Linked DNA regions of Homo sapiens: region 2 is linked to region 1. The links are contacts of gene promoters, found by promoter capture Hi-C in blood cells and fetal thymus (Javierre and others, 2016). All regions are on one chromosome and are shown on one strand. Each heading gives the region's core, a stretch centred on a gene start or on the middle of the fragment in contact. The rest is flanking DNA. Distances are from core to core; before and after follow the strand shown. Region 1 holds the start of SPX (spexin hormone). Region 2 overlaps LDHB (lactate dehydrogenase B).

Region 1 (2,651 bases), core at 61-2,560:
ATCCCTTTTATATACAAGTTCTATATTTTCTACCTCCACAACATGTATTCCAAATTCATTTACAGCTCTTCTTTCCCTGTGTGTACCATCCCAGTGTAAGCCATCATCATCTATTGCTTATAATCGTATTTCCACATCAACTGGCCCATTTCTTCTTCTCCAATCTCATTTCAAAGCACCTCCCCCGTTCACCCACACAACGCTGCCTCCATTGGCCTCTTTCCTAGTCCCCAAGCAAGTCATGCTCTTTGCTGTCCACAGATTTTGCTTTTCTTTCTTCTATTGAGAATGCCTGGAATACTAATTCCTGCCCAGCTTCTCCCATTACTTCACCTTATCCTTCAAGACTACCCTCTGTTTTTAACCTTCCCTAAAGTAGCCCACCACTTATCCTATCACATCACCTTGCTTACTTTTACTTAACAATTTAAAACATTCTGTAGTTACAGTAGTCCCTGCTTATCCACGGTTTCACTTTCCATGGTTTCAGTTACCCATGGTCAACTACAGTCTGAAAATATTAAATGGGAAATTCCAGAATTAATAAGTTTAAATTGTGAGCTTTAAATCTGAGTAGGGTGTTGAAATCTCTCACTGTCCAGCTCCAGCCCACCCAAGACATGAACCATCTTTTTGTCCAGCATGTCCATATGTAAACACCACTCTCCCATTAATCAGTTAGTAACCATCTTGGTGAACAGATAAAAAAAAATAGTATAATAAGGCATATACGTATCAGTGGTTTCAGGCATCCACTGTGGGTCTTGAAACATGCTCCTCCACCCCACACACACCTACGATTAAGGGGTAACTACTGTGTCTTATTTATCTATTCATCAGTTTACTGTGTACCTTAACTAGTAGGTAACTTAGATCAAAGCAGAGACCATGTCTTTTCAGTGCATGGCTGTGTCCCTTGAAATACAAGGATTGTGTGTCTCATAGGCACTCAATAAATATTTGCTAAACAACAGAATGAATTGATAATTAAGTGAATGACTGATGTCAAATTCCATTGAGATTCCCAAACCTTTTCATACATCTTTAGCCATCAGTGATAGACTGATGGCTAGTTACCCAAGAAAAGTTTTCTGATTTATTCTTTTACTTTTGATTCTGCCTTGGACTATTGATTGTTTTCATTAATAATAATAATAACATGTTACTTTGGGCAGCTAGTAGGAAAAGCAAGGCCAATGATGCTGACACATTCTGAAGGCCTCCTGGGTGATGCAATCAGTATTTAAACAAATAATTTCTGCCCATCAATCATTCCTCTACTTCCTGCAATGAAGCTCCCTGGAGGAGTCATCAGATTCTCAATCTTGCTTGAAGACTGACAAGATGTCCCTGTGGACTCCCAAACTCTACTCCAGATGGGGAGGTGCCCTTAACACCAAGATTTTAAAAGCTCCAATTTCAGAGCAAGAGTCGAAAACTCACAGATAAAGTTATAGTTATTTCAGGGTTCTGAAAAGACGCAGAACATGAAGGTAAGTAAAGGCTTTATTAACTTGAGACTTCTTAGCTATTTTTTAAAACGTTTTATAGCATTTTACCTATTTCATGTTTAATAAGGATTTTAGAGTTTAAAGGATATTTGAACGATACGCCTTTAGAATAACAGAATCATTTGATTTTACTAAGAAAAAAATTCACGTATTTACTTATTCTTCATTTGGGTGAAGTAATACAAATAATATGTTTCTAAATACGTTTTTTCAAGTGGACTCTTTGTGAATTAACTAGAAGGTAGAAGGGAAACACCTCCAGAAAACTGAGTATTAAAACAGAATATTGCGAGAAGTAAGGGGGTTTATAATTGTCCAGGCGTCAAGGAAGGAAGCAGAAGATCCTATTGGCACAGAAATGACCCTTTCTGGTTGATCGCTTCATATAGGGACTCAGAAGTCTGGCAGCAACAACCTTGGCTCTTTTCCTGGTGTTTGTTTTCCTGGGAAACTCCAGCTGCGCTCCGCAGGTAATCAAATGCAAAATAAAAAATTTTAAAACAATGCGCACTGTGTGTCCACTCTGCTCTTTCTTTCTTCCTTCTTGTTTTATTCTCTTCTTTTTCCTTTATTTTGCTGTAATAGAGGACTGAGCTGCAATGTTTTATTAACTGCTCTTCCCTTCCCCCGGGCTATAGAGACTGTTGGAGAGAAGGAACTGGACTCCTCAAGCTATGCTCTACCTGAAAGGGGCACGTAAGTTCCAAATATTTCGCTCTTCCTACAATAATGGAAGACCCCTAGGAGTCAGGAACAGATAGATGGAGAGTTATGGAGAGAGAATAATGTCGAGTTTATTCCCTTAAATCATCGAGGCCATCAAAGAGACCGGTAGGTGAGGGAGGGGTGGGAGAGGGGAAGAGTCCCTGATTATTGGAAATCCTCCATCCTTATTAGAAATTCTCCATCCAAAACTGGAGGGTTGCTTCTCTTGGTCCAAATGGGGACTCGGGTTGCCTGGGAAATATCTCAGTAACCCGACCTCCGCTCCAAAGCGCCCTTGCGGCGTCCGGTCAGGCGCGGGGCTTTCCTCCAGAGCTCCAGGGCCCCTGGCTCAGCCCGGGGTTGCGCTGGGAGCGCTGGAAACTCGGCAGCCCCGCGCGACCCTATCCTGGAGCAACCTGCCCCCTCCCCACGCCC
Region 2 (2,651 bases), core at 107-2,606, 120 kb after region 1:
TCTCCGTGTCTCTTTTCTCCAGTCTCTCGTTCCACCCGACGAGAAATGCCCACAAGGGTGGAGAGGCAGGCCACCCCTTCATTGTACCAATACTTTTGGGGTCTAAAACATGCTAGTTCTCAGATACATATAAACAAGGCATTATAATACAATAGCCCAAAATGTTACATATCAAATGTGTAGAAGGTCTGTGGGAGAGGGTTAATGTAAGTGATACTTGAGTTTAACCTTAAGGATAAACTGGACCCAGATGAAAAGAAACTGCCAACACCAGATTCACCAGGATGGGAAGACTAATTTTATAACAGACTGAGGGAGGAGAGGAGAATGATGAGCCATGAGGAAATGCAGGTTATATCTAAATTGAGAGCTGTGCAGGCCCTGCCAGAGGTTTTAGAATACAGACAAAGGTTTATAAAAAGATAAGAAATCTTTAAAGAAAAGAATGCATTCAAACTTTCATTTTAGGGAAAGCATCTGTTTTAGGATAAAGATAACTAGTGTGGCAGTGTGGAGTGTGGAATACATAACCATTTTCTACATACACTTCCAATGGGAAAATGTCAATTTGCTATGTGTACATTTTAGCAGTAGCAATGAGTTTCTAGAAACGGATGAAAGAAAATTGGCCTATAGAAGAAACGTGGTAAAATAAGCCAAACAATGCGATAAATCCAATTTGTTATTTCCTGTTAGTGACATATCAGTGATCACTTACGGCTAGCAAACTCATTTTAGGTAGCTGTCCATTAATAAGTGAATATAAAATATTTGAGAAATAAAAAGTAGAATACAGTAGAGAAGTAAGAGCTTTTTATAAAATGAGGAAAAAGAGGGAAACATTTTATAATTATATAACAATTTTGCAATAATCTGAATTTGCTAAACTACATTATAAATATCTTATTAACAGTTATTGAAATAACTGTTCCAAAACTTCAACCTTTCCTACTTACAAATAAATCTATTATGCTGTAAGATGCATTCCAAATGTGTTTTGGGGCCATGAAAAAAATATTAGATCACTTTGGGCATTAAGTGAAATTACCTTTATCTGCCACAATTTTAGGTGTCTGAAGAAATAAGCTCCCATGCTGCAGATCCATCATTTCTCCTTTAAGCTTATCTTCCAAAACATCCACAAGAGCAAGTTCATCAGCCAGAGACTGTAAACGCAAAAACAGGCATTAGAACCCTAAGCCACTCTAGGATGCGTCAGCTCACAATCTAACCCAAAGAAAGATCTTTAACATGGCTAAGCACCAAAGATCTAAACATCTTGAGAATTTTACCATGGAGTTAGATACTCAATGAGGATTCAGTTCACATGATACAAACTATACTTTAAGAACATGTAGACTTAAAGATTCATTAGGAAACCAGCTTAGTTCAAGAGTAGGCCTAGTGAATACAAGTCTATATTAATGGAGAGGGAATGGTGAAAACAAAAATACACTCAGGCCCAGAAACAACCTTGGGCAATGTGTCCATCCTTGAGGTCACCCCAATTTGGAGGCTTTCTGAGATGGTAGATTTGGCTTAAATCACCAGGAGTGTGAGTTTACTTTAGAGTAGGATTTGAAACCCAGGTTGAAGCTTGGAATCTTCAGGGTGGCTCTGATCCACTCAAATGTCTTGGTGGGGAAAGGAAGATGAGTTTTATGGACAGAGGAATCTAGGATTGGGAGGTTTTTTCATGTGATCACTCCAAATCTGTGCCTGAGACTTGCCCAGTCTCAGATTTCTTTTGTTTTCTATTCCAATTGTCATTCTCTGTCCCCCATTCAAAATACAATCTAAAGTAATGAATATACTATTTAATCTTGATCTGGAGTCATATTTTTTTTTGAGACGGAGTCTCGCTCCGTTGCCGAGGCTGGAGTGTAGTGGTGCAATCTCGGCTCACTGCAGCCTCCGCCCACTGCAATCTCCACCTCCCGGGTTCAAGTGATTTTCCAGCCTCAGCCTCCTGAGTAGCTGGGATTACAGGTACGTGCCACCACACCCAGCTAATTTTTGTATTTTTAGTAGAGATGGGGTTTTGCCATGTTGCCAAGGCTGGTATCGAAATCCTGACCTCAGTTGATCCACCCGCCCCGGCCTCCCAAAATGCTGGAATAGGCAGTGCTGGGCCTGGAATCATAATTTTTTAAATTTTCTCAATATCTACATAAAAGTGAAAGAAAGGAAAAAAAAAAGGTGGTTGGTCTACATGCATCTAAGCAACCTTTCAGCTATGAAATTCCATTATCTTATGGAAGTCATAATTTATAAACTGTTTATAAAGTGGTTATCCCTCCTATTGAAACATCACCAGAGTCCTTGCTCTTACTGTTTTTATGGCTGTTAGCAAAAATATCAGCTAAGTAGAATACATCAATACTGGGGCCCAGTTAAAAATGCCAATACAGTCATTCCTCAATATACGATACTCAAGGGATTGGTTCTAGGACCTCTGAGTGTACCAAAATCTGGGCATAATCAAGTATACAGAAAGGACAGTATTCACCGGATGCAAAAGACTCTCCATATATGTGGGTTTCGCATCCCCTGAATACTGTATTTTCAATATACTTTTGGTTGAAAAAAAAAATCTGCCTGTAAGTGAACCAGCCCATGTTGTTCAAGGGTCAACCTCTTCTAAGAATAGT

The links. The method cuts DNA at HindIII sites, captures the fragments that hold promoters and counts their contacts. A CHiCAGO score of 5 or more calls a contact.
Region 2: a contact is called between a fragment that was not itself captured here and the fragment with the promoter of SPX in region 1, in 1 of 17 cell types (megakaryocytes). The highest score is 5.5, in megakaryocytes.

Annotation. Positions count from the first base shown.
Region 1 is chr12:21,524,986-21,527,636 of GRCh38, forward strand. SPX (spexin hormone) reads left to right here and starts at 1,311. Exons shown (of 6, transcript NM_030572.4): 1 at 1,311-1,493; 2 at 1,901-1,981; 3 at 2,150-2,207. The coding sequence starts at 1,488. The HindIII fragment of the contact is 15,623 bases long and covers 1-2,651 here.
Region 2 is chr12:21,645,851-21,648,501 of GRCh38, forward strand. It overlaps LDHB (lactate dehydrogenase B), which reads right to left. Exons shown (of 8, transcript NM_002300.8): 3 at 1,049-1,166. Among named protein-coding and RNA genes, the nearest start is that of LDHB, 11 kb to the right of the region's middle. The HindIII fragment of the contact is 475 bases long and covers 1,120-1,594 here.